2 separate regions of the Homo sapiens genome follow, and region 2 is linked to region 1. The links are contacts of gene promoters, found by promoter capture Hi-C in human tissues and cell types (Jung and others, 2019). All regions are on one chromosome and are shown on one strand. Each heading gives the region's core, a stretch centred on a gene start or on the middle of the fragment in contact. The rest is flanking DNA. Distances are from core to core; before and after follow the strand shown.

Region 1 (7,379 bases), core at 3,063-5,562:
GCAGCCAGGCACGGTGGCTCACGCCTGTAATCCCAGCACTTTGGGAGGATGAGGCGGGTGGATAACCTGAGGTCAGGAGTTCGAGACCAGCCTGGCCAACATGGTGAAACCCCTTCTCTACTAAAAATACAAAAAATTAGCCAGGCGTGGGGAGCGCGCCTGTAATCCCAGCTATTTGGGAGGCTGAGGCAGGAGAATTGCTTGAACCCGGGAGGCAGAGGTTGCAGCGAGCTGAGATCACGCCACTGCACGCCAGCCTGGGTGACAGAGCAAGACTCCATCTCAAAAAATATATATATAGTCTTAGTTTTACACAGAGATGCATACACATATACACAAGATGTAGTGATTGAGACTCTTAAAGAGTAAAACAAAATGTATGTTAACTGGATATCTGAGAAAAATGATTATGATAAAAAGGGCCTAGTCACATTATCCAACGGGGAAAATAAACTTGAAAGAATGTGAATATAAATACAAGTAATACAAGTTTTCCAGAAAGAAATGTTAACAGAGAATGAATACCTTTTAAAAGTCATTCCAATGCTGGGAAAACTAGATATCCACATGCAGAAGAATGAAATTAGATCATTATCTCACATTATATGCAAAAATCAACTCAAAATAGATTAGAGATTTAAAAGACCTGAAACTGTAAAACTGCTAGAAGAAAATAGTGGGAAAGCTCTACGTCACTGGTCTGGAGAATGATTTTTTTGGATATGACAACAAAAGCACAGGCAACAAAAGCAAAAATAGACAAACAGGATTACATCGAACTATTAACAGAAAACTCTGCATAGCAAAGGAAACAGTCAGCAAAGTAAAGAGCCTATGGAATGGGAGAAAATATTTGCAAACTATACATCTGGTAAGGGGTTAATATCCAAAATACATAAGGAACATAAACAACTCAGTAGGAAGAAAACAACTCAAACAGAAAGTGAGCAAAGGACCTAAATAGACATTTCTCAAAAGATGACATACAAATGGCTAATAGGTATATGAAAGCATGCTCAATGTCACTAATCATCAGGGAAATGCAAATTAAAACCACAATGAGAAATTACAGACGGTATTAGAATGGAGATTATTTAAAAAAAAAGACAAAAGATAACAACTGTTGGCAAGGATATGGAGAAAAGGGAACCCTTATACAGTTAGTGGGAATGTAAATTAGTACAGCCATTATGGGAAACAGTATAAATTATTTGTTGTGTATATTTTCGAGAAGGTAACTGAATGGGTTAACTTAGTTAAATGTTGAAATACGTCTATTCAATAGATTAATTTGGTTTTAGAATATTAAAATTCTGGCTTGGTGTTATTCTATTAATCCCACTCTTATGGTGGGAATAAATATGTTATATGTTTCTATTCAATAATTTGGTTTTAGAATATTAATATTTTGGCTTGGTGTTATTCTATTAATCCCACTCTTATGTTGGGAATAAATATGTTATATGCTTAACAACAACAAAGAAACCTAACTTTGACCATGGATTTGATTTCAGGTGCACAGGGCTAAGGGCAGCCTGCAGGTTAGCTCTGTGACTGCATAGTTCTACATTCTTTCTCTGATCTGCTGCTGCTATTTGATCTCTGAATTTCTCTTTAGTTTTGGTGAAACTTTCTAAAAGACATTCACTGTGGGTCAGATGCAATTTATAAAAATTGTGTATTCAAGAAGGGAGCCCTGTTTATCTCATTTCTCAGCTGTTTAGGAGATGATTTTAGAGCACTAGAAAGGCACTGGTAGAGAGGCAGGCAGAGGGCAAACCTCCAAGGCCATTAAGGTTTTGTTGTAATTCATAGGAAGCCATTAAAGGGTTCCAAACAAAGGATTTAAACAACCTAAATTGAATGTTAAGAAGACATTTCTGGCTGCTCTATTTGAGGGTTCTTGGTAAGTGCTAAGAAATGAACAAATGTGGTATAATCATCTATCAGTGTATTTCTCACTGGCCCTGATTTATCCAAGATTAATTCAATTTCTGGGATTACCAAAGGCATCTCTGATGAAACTCAAGACCCACATTAAATATCCACATTATGGCCCACGATGAACACCTATGCAATGAGATTGTCATTATTCAAATTACAGTACAGCTATCCTAGAGGAAAAAGAGGCTTGCTACATGCTAGAATAGCATTAAGTGTGGAGAGAAATGTGAAGGTTTAAAGGAGAAAGTGCTTCTAAAGCTGATCCAGGAAGGATAAGGAGAATATGGGCCGGACGCGGTGGCTCACGCCTGTAATCCTAGCACTTTGGGAGGCCTAAGGCGGGCAGACTGCCTGAGCTCAGGAGTTTGAGAGCAGCCTGTGCAACACAGTGAAACCCAGTCAATACTAAAATACAAAAAATCAGCTGGGCGTGGTGGCATGCGCCTGTAGTCCCAGTTACTGGGGAGGCTGAGACAGGAGAATTGCTTGAACCCGGAGACCAAGGTTGCAGTGAGCTGAGATCTCGCCATTGCACTCCAGCCTGGGCGACAGAGCAAGACTCCATTTCTAAAAAAAAAAAAAAAAAAAAAAAAGAGAATATGAATTGATGAAGAGTGAACAGTAGGTATTCCAGATGAGGGGAATAGGGAATAATACTCACAAAACTGTAGAAGAGTCAACATGTTACATGAGAATATTGGCTTGATTAGTACTCAGTTCCATCATGGATTAGTAGTGGAAACTATTGGATGAGTAGTAGAATGAGGGTAATTTAGGGAAGCAGTACTTTTCTCTCGAAGACAACAAATTACAAAGATTTTTGAGCCGAAGTGAGCCTTTCAAGAGAATACTTACTTCACAGTTTCTAGTTACCCACACACAGTGTAGAGAGAAAAGAAAATGAGGAATATGGGCAGGCTTTATTCTTAGCAGCAAAAGGCAACCGTGCCACCTCCAGGTGTTTTGTTTGAAATACACCTGCCACCTTTCTACTAGATTACTTCATTCCTTGCTCACAAAACGTCTCATGCACTCTACTGCTTAAAGAGTAAAGTCCAAACTCCTCAGCCTTACACTCGAGATTCTCCGAAATTCTTCCCTGACACACCTCTCCAAAGAAGCTTACTTTAAGGAAACTCATACTCTGGCTAAATGGTCTTTAAATTCTCAAGAAGTCACTGTGTCTTCCATCTACCTTCCCTCACATCTACCTTCCCTCGCTGATGTGTTCTTTATTCTTGGAATCCCTTAGTTCTTGTTTACTCCTGTAAGTACTACCTAGGTTGTAAGGTCTAGTGCAAACCCTATATCCTCTACGAAGAGTTTTCATACCACCGTAGACCATATTGACTTCATTTCTTCATTGCTTTTTGTGAACTATGCTTGGACAAGTTGCTTCAACTCTTTTTTTTTTTTTTTTGAGACGCAGTCTCGCTCTGTCGCCCAGACTGGAGTGCAGTGGTATGATCTCGGCTCACTGCAAGCTCCGCCTCCCAGGTTCACGCCATTCTCCTGCCTCAGCCTCCCAAGTAGCTGGAACTACAGGCGCCCACCGCCACGTCCGGCTAATTTTTTTTTTTTTTTTTTTTTGTATTTTTAGTAGAGACAGGGTTTCACCATGTTAGCCAGGATGGTCTCGATCTCCTGACCTCGTGATCTGCCCGCCCTGGCCTCCCAAAGTGCTGGCATTACAGGCGTGAGCCACCGCGCCGGGCCCAGAAGGCTAATTCTTACTGTCTCTAACACAGGTCCGGTACATAACACTTATTTTGGCGGAAGTTACTGGGTTTTTTTAAGGAGTTATGTATCTCTCAAGCAGAAACCTGCTAGTTCATAAATTCTTAGCATCCCCAACCACTCTTGGCACGCTGCCTTGTATATTATTAGGCTCAACAGCAGTTAGTAATGATGAACACTCCTTAATTCGAAAGCGTTCACTGAATCTACCCCAACGATAGCTTCTCATTAGCTTCTCCACTCCAGCTGCTATTGGCCAAGCCCTGGATGCCCGAAGCACACAGGTTTAGGGCTTCTGGCCCTGACACGTAATAGGGAAAGGGGATTGTTTCAATCCAAATGATTATCTATAAAGTCACTCACAATGTAAGTAATAATATGCGAAATTTTAATTTGTGATGACTAAAAGCACTAAAGTGGTGACTCTTTGGGTAGAACGTAAAAACGAACGGTCCTCAACGGCCACAAGGCGCCCCTTCTAGGAGTGGTACCTCCCAGGATAACGGAAAACAGCCCCAGCCCCATCAGGAGCGAGCTTGGGGGCGGGCTTTAATCTCCCGGCCCACTGTTTGGCTATCTGCAGGGGCTGGCCTCCAATGATTGGTCGCTGCCGCGAGGGCCGCCGGGACTCGCACTCGGCGGTTGTTCCAGAAGAAAGAGACAGCGATGGCGGCAGAGGCTTCGAAGACTGGGCCTTCTAGGTCTTCCTACCAGCGAATGGGGAGGAAGAGTCAGCCCTGGGGTGCCGCTGAAATCCAGTGCACCAGGTGTGGAAGGAGGGTATCCAGATCATCCGGTGAGGAGCCCAAGGGCCCACCTAGCGGGGAGGCAGCCTGGAGGGAGCGCTGGGGGCCAGGTGAGCTGGTGGGCGCGTGAGGCTTGGTCAGCTGCATCCAATCCTGGTGTCACCAGAAACTGCGTCACAGGCCTCCCGCGAGCTGCACCCGACCTCTAAGAGGGCAGTGCTTGGGTTGGTTAAGGGCAGCACCTGCGCCTGTCACGGCTTTCTCCAATTACCCATCCAGGCCTCACCGACCCTCCAGCCGGGAGGATGGGGGCCCGGGTGGCTTTAATCTACTCCTCACAAGGCAGGTTAGCGGGTGCATGCAAAAGTAGACATAAAATGTAGCCCATTGTTTTGTCATCAAGAAGGAACGAAACTTGATTTTCTCCTGTAGTTTTTGTTGTAGGAGTAACAAGTAGACCATTGTGAAATGGTTTTGGATTTTGTTGTTGTTGTTAGCATTTTGTTGTTTCTGTGGGGGTTTTTTTGTTTGTTTTTTACATTATGGCTCACACTGGCCTAAAACACTGTTTGGAAAATGATAGTTTCTTTTGTGCACCTTGTGGGGTGTGTGTGTGTGTGTGTGTGTGTGTGTGTGTGTGTTGGTCTTTATACGTGAGGGGAAAAATACACTGCACTATTATTGGTCTGTTCACCTACAATCTACTCAAGTGATCACAGGTTCAAGTTATTTATTATTATTTTTTTCTTTGAGTTGGAGTCTCGCTCTGTAGCCCAGGCTGGAGTGCAGTGGCGCGATCTCGGCTCACTGCAAGCTCCGCCTCCCAGGTTCACGCCATTCTCCTGTCTCAGCCTCTGGAGTAGCTGGGACTACAGGCGCCCGCCACCACGCCCGGCTAATTTTTTGTATATTTAGTAGAGACAGGGTTTCACCGTGTTAGCCAGGATGGTCTCGATCTCCTGACCTCGTGATCCGCCCGTCTTGGCCTCCCAAAGTGCTGGGATTACAGGCGTGAGCCACCGCGCCCGGCCGGTTCAAGTTATTTTAATGTAACTTAAAATACCTTAGTGTGCTCTTAATACAGCTGAGTTGTTGAATCTCAATTCCTGGAGCTACTGAAAATTCGTATTACCTGGCGTAACTGTTTAATGTTTATACTTTCAAAGTTAAGGTCATTCGATCAGTTTTCTCAGTCTTGGCAAGATGGACTCTGTGAGATGTGAGCCTCTGCAGAAAAAGTTGTGATTTCAGTGGAGAACCAAGTTTCTCCTACTTGGGGTTTAGATCACTGCTACCGTTACGTAGAAAATTTCCATTTTTGAATGAAATTAAAATTACGGAATAAAGTTCTAGAACACAACCTTTTAAAATGAGTACTTCTTCCATACATTAGTATTATAATGCTTAGAAAAACTAAACTGGAGAAGTAGTGGTTATGTATATAGAATCCTGAAAGTGCTTTTTAAGCTGTAATTCACCACAAGTTATTTTGAGTTATTCAGTATCAGAAATTTTATAATAGTTAAGTGTTTTTATTTCTTTGGCAATATTATCCCTGGAAGTTAAATAGGGTTTTAAAATTTAGCATGGTTGTAAGCAAGTTTCAGGTATTTCAGTTGGATAGGAAACTTGTAAAGTTTTTAAAAAATACAATTAATGCAAGGCCGGGCACAGTGGCTCACGCCTATAGTCCCAGCACTTTGGGAGGCCGAGGTGGGCGGATCACTTGAGGTCGGGAGATCAAGACCAGCCTAGGCAACATGGTGAAATCCCATCTCTACTAAAAATACAAAAAAATTAGCTAGGCGTGCTGACGCACACCTGTAATCTCAGCTACTCCGGAGGCCGAGGCAGGAGAATAGCATGAACTCAGGAGGCAGAGTTGGCAGTGAACCGAGATCGTGGTCCGTCTCAGAATGAGTGAATGAATGGATGAATAAATAAATAAATAAAATTAATGCGATTATAATTCAGCAAGAACTCTATAATTATTTTGCTAGTAAAAGATGACTGATTTTTATCTAGTTTTTTTCCCTTTTCAGTTTTCTTGCAAAACTTTAAAAATGACAACCTTTTGAAATTATATAGCTAAAACAAATGTTATTTATTATAAACTTCAAATTCTTAGAGCATTTAATCATGATGTTAGGTTTTCAATCAAGTTACGATATTTCCTTTCATAAATGCTAAGTTTGTGAAAATGTGAGTTGTAGATATGTGATAATAGTAGCATCTGGCTTCTGGCCTTGCCAGTGTCTTAAATAATTCTAACAGCACGGTCTTGCCAGTGTCTCATTTTGGCCCTTCCTGACCTCTTCACAGGATGGGAAATATAAAGTAGTAGAGGGCAGTATGATCAATCAGAAAGAATGTTAGACTTGGAAACAGAGCTAGATAGGAGTCTGGATTATACCATTTAGTTAACCAAATCTCCAAAATGCTATTTCATCTCCAGCCCACTTAACTGTGATATTTACAAATAACAAATAAAATGTGTCAGAGCACTTTGTGTAAGATATGGCAGATTCAAAGTATTCTAGGTACAAAATAGCCATCTGAATTAATGCAAATGCTATTACATAGCTCTTCTTGGTTTTTCTTCTTGATTTTTCTCCCTCCTGACCTGAATAGTTGGTTACTCCTGATTTATATTCAATAAGTCAACCATTTCAAACTGTAGTAGGTATCTTTTCCTGTACAGTAGGATCCTCTTTGAATTTCCCTTGTATCAGTATTGCCCATTCAACATTAACACACTGTGGGCAGTTTAATCACAATAGAATTTCTTCAGTAAAATTAGCCGGGTGTGTTGGGACACACCTATAGTCCCAGCTACTTGGGAGGCTGAGGTAGGAGGATCACTTGAGCCCAAGAGGTGGAGGCTGCAGTGAGCTGGTGCCACTACACTCCAGCTTGGGCAACAGAGCAAGACCCTGTCTCAATAATCATCAT
Region 2 (7,379 bases), core at 1,922-4,421, 76 kb before region 1:
GGGGGCTGTGTGGAAGAGTAGCGGCACCTTTAGGAGGAGGGGCCCCTGCAGCGCCTTTGAGACTGCAGTTATTTGCATCTGGACACAGTTCAAGTCAACAGAAAAACCTACTGTGGGGCTCACACTGGCCTGGCAGTGAGAGGGACCAAGAGGGACAGATGACCCCTGGCCTCAAGGAGAAAGTGGCCGGGTAGGGGAGGCAAATGTGTATGGAAGTGTCCTGAGATTCACTCTATCCCCCTGGGATGGCTACAAGAAGTAGAAACGCTATGCTGGGACAAAGGTGGATTCTGATGGAAGGGGCCAGAGCCAGCTCTCGGGCTGCTGCCATGTTTGCGCTGGGACTCAAAATGCTTCGGATTTAAGCTGGTGGGGGACCCCAGGGCCAGTAAGCACAGAGCCTGCTTGGAGAGAATCTGGGCTTGCCGGAAGCTAGTATGTGTGGAGAGGGGACAGGTGCAGCAGGAATGAAGCCAGGAAGGTCATCTGGGTGAAGCTGTCAAAGTATTCACATTAAACTAATGAGTAGGAGCTGTCTTAGAGGCAGAAGGGACATGGTTTCCACACATGGAGGTGCTTTCATTGGTTTTCAAAAGGCAGTTCTCATAGAAGATTCTTTTTTTAAAGTGAGAAATGGAAGGGTCTAGAAGAATGGAACAACAGCCCAGGACTGTGAAATGAGGATCTGAAATAATGTCGAAAGACATTACAGGGGCCAGACGTGGTGGCTCAGGCCTGTAATCCCAGCACTTTGGGAGACTGAGGTGGGCAGATCACCTGAGGTCGGGAGTTTGAGACCAGCCTGACCAACATAGTGAAACCCCGTTTCTACTAAAAATACAAACAATTGGCAGGGCGTGGTGGCACATGCCTGTAATCTCAGCTACTCAGGAGGCTGAGGCAGGAGAATCTCTGAAACCCAGGAGGCAGAGGTTGCGGTGAGCCAAGATCATGCCATTGCACTCCAGCCTGGGCAACAAGAGCAAAACTCCATCTCAAAAAAAAAAAAAAAAAGGGCCGGGCGTGGTGGCTCACGCCTGTAATCCCAGCACTTTAGGAGGCCAAGACGGGCGGATCACGAGGTCAGGAGATCGAGACCATCCTGGCTAACACGGTGAAACCCCGTCTCTACTAAAAATACAAAAATTAGTCGGGCACGGTGGCGGGCGCCTGTAGTCCCAGCTACTCGGGAGGCTGAGGCAGGAGAATGGCGTGAACCTGGGAGGCGGAGCTTGCAGTGAGCGGAGATCGCGCCACTGCCCTCCAGCCTGGGCGACAGAGCGAGACTCTGTCGAAAGAAAAGAAGGAAAGAAAGAAAGAAGGAAGGAAGGAAGGAAAGAAAGAAAGAAATTGCAGAGAGACACAACCAGCAGGACTTGCGGGGATTTTTATTGAGCCCCTCATCTCGCTAGTCATGTCACAGCAGCAGGAGGAGGAGAGCCGGTCGGGTGATGGGCTGGGGTGGGGGCAGGGAGGTGAGAGCAGGGAAGGCAGGAGGGTGGAGGCGATGATGAACTTATTGTGAGTTATACCAGGAGAAGTCTCTCCGGAACACCCCTGAGGAAATGTTCCACAGTTATTCAGAAAGATGAGTCTGGGGTTCTGGAAAAGGAATTGGAGTGGAGGGAGATGGGATCGAGGTGGTGAGCCTGAATCTAGCCATTCAACAGATATTTGAATCACTACCACAGAAAAAGCATGAGACCCGGGAGAGAACACAAAAATGACCAAGACTGGCCTGTCATGGTGGCTTAGGTCTGTAATCATAGCACTTTGGGAGGCCAAGGTGGGCAGATCACTTGAGGTCAGGAGTTCGAAACCAGCCTGGCCAACGTGGTGAAACCCTGTCTCTACTAAAAATATTTTAAAAATTAGCCAAGTGTGGTGGCCGCTGCCTGTAATCCCAGCTATTTGGGAGGCTGAGGCAGGAGAATCGCTTGAACCCAGGAGGAGGAGGTTGCAGTGAGACGAGATCGCACCAGTGCACTCCAGCTTGGGCAACAGAGCGAGACTCTGTCTCAAAAAAAAAAGACCAAGACAGAGTCCTGCCCTTTAAGTAGCTTACAACATAATTAGGGAGAAGAGGTATCTACAGACTTGTCCACCAAAGATCGTCTGTGGGGGAAATTCCTGTGAACATGTAGGGTTTCAAAGGTGAGGGTGCCTCACGGATGGCAGGCCCCCCAGGGCAGGGGCTGCTCACATGGGCTCAGGGCTTGGGTAGGATTTATGCCTGTCAAGATGAATGAGAACTTAGGCTGGATGTGTAGAAAGGTGGAAAAGGAGCAGGCGTAAGGATGGAAACTAAAGCCACATGCTCTCTGTGCAGGATTCCAGAAGCTTCCCTATTTCCTGGGGAGTTACTGCATTGCCCTTAGCCCTGGTGAGCAGCTTCTTCATTCCAAGTCCTCCTTCATCAAATTAGTCCTCTCACCGGATAAACCTCTAAGAAACTAAAACCCCTTAGCAGAGCAGAGTGCAGTGGCTCTGGACCCAGTCACCACGTTGAACCTGGTCGCTACCATTGACAGGCCAGGTCCCTTCGACAGGTTACGTAATTTCTCTGTGCCTCAAATTCCACCTCTGCGAATGACGAGAGGGAGGAATAATGGCCCCTGCCTCAAGGGTTATTTTAAAGACTAAATGAGTGAATATACAGAGCACAGTGCCTGGCTGGTATTAAGCATTACATAGTCTTTCAAAAAAGCTGGGCAGCTGGAGAAGTGAGGCACGGTCTGCTTTTCTCGGGACCTTCTTTGGCCACGTTAATGCCTCACCCCAAGCTGCAAAAATATGCAGCCCAACCCCTGAGGGAGGAGGAATGTCTAATTCGTATTTGTTTTGGTTGTGCATGTGCTTTGTTTGGCTTTCCCAGGGTCTCTCCAGCACCAGAGCTGCCGAGCTCCTGGCCCGGGATGGGCCCAACTCCCTCACCCCTCCCAAGCAGACGCCTGAGATCGTCAAGTTCCTCAAGCAGATGGTGGGGGGGTTCTCTATCCTCCTGTGGGTGGGCGCCTTTCTCTGTTGGATTGCATATGGGATTCAGTACTCCAGCGACAAGTCTGCATCCCTGAACAACGTAAGGCTCTGGGGTGTCCCCTCCTGGTTTTGCTGGCAGAGCCATCCAGTGAGGCCTTGGGGGCACAGCTGGGGGCTGAATGCCACTGCCTAGGTGTGGGAAAGTCAGGCATTTTCCCAGCTGTAAAACAGAAATTCTATCTGGCTTTCTGATCTTCTAGAGGCAGTGTGGGCATGAAGAGGGATACACAAAACACCTTGAATTTTTAAGGGGGAGAAAATCTGCATCCATGTGAAGTAGTTTGGGGTTCTGTCTCCCCCAAGCTAACCTCTTCCTTTAACACGGAGAGCAGCTGTGCCTGCCGAGACATGAGTACCAAATCCACAAAACTGAATTGGCCAACGTGATGCCAAGAGACAGAAGCCAGAGGCAACAAGCTACATGTCATAGGATTGGATTGACATGAAATGTGCAGAACAGGCACATCCTTGGAAGCAGGAACCAGATCGGTGATGCCAGGGCATGGGACAGGAGCAGGGAGTGACGGCAGAGGGGCCGGAGGGATCTCCAGGCAGGATGGAGATGCTCTGAGGCTGCGGTGGAGGGTGGTGTCATGGCTCTGTAAACTTAAAAAAAAAAATCAATAAGTTGCGCACTTAACATGGGCGAATTCCATGGCCTGTAAATTATACCAGGGCGTAACTGCCAGCATTGCATCCTCCCGTGGAGAGCTCTAGCCCCAGGGCCCGGCTGCTTCCCACTGCTGGTTTCTCTGACTGACGCCCTCCTTCTCACCCAGGTGTACTTGGGCTGTGTGCTTGGTCTGGTGGTCATTTTAACGGGGATCTTTGCTTATTACCAAGAGGCAAAAAGCACCAACATCATGTCCAGCTTCAATAAGATGATCCCTCAGGTGAGTGGCAGCCACCTATCCTCTGGCCTCTGGTGACTCCCAGGTGAGGAAGCCTCAGCTGGGAGGGGCACAGGGCCCTGAGGGCTACGGGTTTCCACTTCCTTCCCTGTCGGAGCAATCGTGGGCGAATTAACCCATCTGTCAGAACCCCAGTTCCTCACAGGATTTTGATGGTCAAATGAGGCACCACCCAGGGCAGTGCTGGTTAGCCCAAGGCATCTTCTGTTCCTGCTCCTCAGTGTTTGTGGATAGTCCTTCTGGGTTCTGGAAGGGACCTGTGGAAGGTCAGGGAGTGTTCTTTCACTGGCAGCCAAGGAGACCAGCCTGCAATTGTTTATCTGTGACCATTTTTGCTCCTGAGCCCCAGAATGCATTTGGTGGGGAAGCCCAGTGCTCCCTTCTTCCCCAAAAACCCCTGTCAGGTGTCCACACTGTCTCTGGCCCAGAGAACTGTGGGCTGGAGAGATTCTGGGTGGAAAAGACGCCTCCTGCCAAGCTTGAAGCAGGAGATCACCTCGTTAAAATTTCCCTGACACTCGCAAGATTATCAGCCTCCCCAGCCCCACCTTCAGTGTTCTGCCCAGACGCCCAGCCAGGATTGCTCACCCTTAGTGGTCTCCTTTTCTAGGAGGCCCAGGGCTCTGGCTTGGCCAGATCTGGCCAACAGCGACTCTTCTGTTCCAAGAACTCTCCATAAGCTCAAGAAAAAGTAGTTCTTAGAGTCTTCAGGCCTCGGGTGAAGCAGTCTTCTGTTTCATTCTTGCTGTTCTGACAGCCTCATGCTCCAGCAGCAATGCTGTGTCCACAGGGCCAGGTGCAGGCTGCATAACAGCATGGACTCAACAGTGAGAGTGATCAGGAAGTTCCAAGGCCTCTGTCCTGGGGTTCGGTGCGGCACAGACTTGGGGGAGGGCCGGTGTCCTTCCAGGGTCTGAGGCATCTGTCATGGTTTTTTTCTGCAGCAAGCTCTCGTCATCCGAGATTCCGAGAAGAAGACCATCCCTTCAGAGCAGCTGGTGGTGGGGGACATTGTGGAGGTCAAAGGAGGAGACCAGATCCCTGCAGACATCAGGGTGCTGTCTTCTCAGGGGTGTCGGGTAAGCGGCAAGGGGTATCCACCCCAAGGACCATGTTCCAAACCTGCTGGCTCTGGGGTCTTTCCCAGCATCAGTATAAGAGGCAGGGAATGAGGTACCCAGCTGTGAACCACCTTCAACATTTCTTCTAGGTGGATAACTCATCTCTCACGGGGGAGTCTGAGCCCCAGCCCCGCTCCTCTGAGTTTACCCATGAAAACCCCCTGGAAACAAAGAACATCTGCTTCTATTCCACAACGTGTCTGGAAGGTAAAAGGCCTCTGGCTCTCAGCCCACATGTCCACCTGTGTCCTTTCTCCCTCCTGGGCTCTCAGGTCTGTCCTTTGCCACACCCCGTTACAAAGCTCATCCCAGAGGAAGCATGGAACTGAAGGGCCTAGAGGACGATGCTTGGCCTTGGGAATGTGGTGTGCCTATCGATTGTGCCAGCCCCCAGAGAGGGCTGCAAGCTGGCTGCACACCCCTCCTGGCTGAGGACCCCTGGAATAAAGCATCTACTTCCCCTGTAGGCACTGTCACCGGCATGGTTATCAACACGGGTGACCGCACCATCATTGGCCATATTGCCTCATTGGCCTCAGGAGTTGGAAATGAGAAGACGCCCATTGCCATTGAGATCGAGCACTTTGTTCACATTGTGGCAGGAGTGGCTGTCTCCATCGGCATCCTTTTCTTCATCATCGCTGTGTCCCTGAAGTATCAAGTCCTGGACTCCATCATCTTCCTCATTGGCATCATTGTGGCCAATGTGCCCGAGGGCCTCCTGGCCACTGTCACTGTGAGTCCATGCTGTTAGACAGCCTGCACCTGGCCCTGTGGACACAGCACTGGTGCTGGGGAGGCGCCCACACAAACTGCAATCTCCCCCAAGTCCAGAGCACCACGCCCTCCCCGCCAGCGACAACCCTGGAACATTCTGCATAGACTGTTCCTTACAGAGACAAAAAATTTGTCATATTTTCAATATTTGACTGCGTTTTCCTTGAAAACGTTATGCTTTCAATCTGCAATTCACACAGCTTACTCTGCCCCATAAGATCTAGATAAGACAGACTCCACCATTCACAGGTTTTCTAGAAGCTTGATGCCTTCCGCACATTTCTTTGGCAGTTTCTACAACTTAGGCATTTAGGCACATTGCCACACTCCACTTACCTCTCTTACGAAAAAAAAAAATTCCTCCCATTTTTCCTGCCGAGGACTCCAGCCCTTTCCTGGCCAACCCCAGACCCAGCTGTTTGTATGGGCCCATGTCATTCAGTCCCTAGAGAAGAGCCCCCTCCTCCTCAGTCTCTCCTGTGGGGGTCTCAAGGGGTAGGAGAGGAGGGGGTTTATGTTTCCAGTTTTGTGACTACATGATCATTGGCCTGCTATTGTCCTGACCAAAGAAAAGAGAAGAAGTTTTTGAAGTCCAGGTCTCCTCTGACTCCAGGAGATAGTAATTTGGGGAAATTGGAGCCAAAAGAACCCTTTGAGATCTAGGGGTTTAAAAGAATCTTTAAAATATGGAGCTTTTAAAATGAAACAACATAAAGGCTGCTGAATTCCCCAAAGCAACAAGTGTGTCCTTTGGGACAACTCTTTGGCATGCACTGGTCAGTCTCTCTTACACACTCCTGCTTAGGGATCACAGGAGGCGTCGTGATTGTACGTGAACACGAGCCACAGCAGCGTGTCCGTGTTTGCTGCCCGTGGGTCCCTTGTTTTCTTCAAGTCATGAAGGAACAAGAAAAGCATCTCATATTTAATCTTTAAAAAAGGATTGTGGCATAGAGGGCTCTTGGCGGCGTATAAGCCACCAGGTCAGCTTAGCTGCGCTGACAACCACACCTCTCCCCTAAAACTAGTCCAGCTCTCTCCTAAAATTCAATCACAGCTCACATTGGCTATTTCTGTATTATTGGACCTGAGTTCAAATGAGGATTTTTCCCAAAGCGTCCTTCCCTCTCCTGCTAGGTGACCCTGTCGCTGACAGCAAAACGGATGGCCAAGAAGAACTGCCTGGTGAAGAACCTGGAGGCTGTGGAGACCCTCGGCTCCACCTCCATCATCTGCTCGGACAAGACTGGGACACTGACCCAGAACAGGATGACAGTGGCCCATCTGTGGTTCGACAATCAGATCTTTGTGGCTGACACCAGTGAGGACCATTCAAGTAAGTCTTATGGAGAGCTCGGTCTGGCCAAAGCTGTGGACTCCATCCTGGGGCTGAGCTGAGCACACAGCAGGGTCTGCAGCCAGAGGATTGCTGGACAGTGACTCATGGACGGCCAGCCCAACCCACAGCAGCCACTGTTCTTTCTCTGTCTTCCAGACCAAGTCTTTGACCAAAGCTCTAGGACTTGGGCCT

What was found. Contacts are between HindIII fragments. The study calls those that stand out against the background at their distance.
Region 2: a fragment that was not itself captured here is called in contact with the fragment with the promoter of RNF17 in region 1 in 3 of the 25 tissues and cell types used here (H1 embryonic stem cells, IMR-90 fibroblasts and aorta).

The regions. Positions count from the first base shown.
Region 1 is chr13:24,759,857-24,767,235 of GRCh38, forward strand. RNF17 (ring finger protein 17) reads left to right here and starts at 4,313. Exons shown (of 36, transcript NM_031277.3): 1 at 4,313-4,477. The coding sequence starts at 4,348. The HindIII fragment of the contact is 17,753 bases long and covers 1-7,379 here.
Region 2 is chr13:24,685,444-24,692,822 of GRCh38, forward strand. It overlaps ATP12A (ATPase H+/K+ transporting non-gastric alpha2 subunit), which reads left to right. Exons shown (of 23, transcript NM_001676.7): 4 at 2,876-3,079; 5 at 3,819-3,932; 6 at 4,895-5,029; 7 at 5,161-5,278; 8 at 5,539-5,807; 9 at 6,986-7,184; 10 at 7,344-7,379. Among named protein-coding and RNA genes, the nearest start is that of ATP12A, 8.7 kb to the left of the region's middle. The HindIII fragment of the contact is 4,194 bases long and covers 1,075-5,268 here.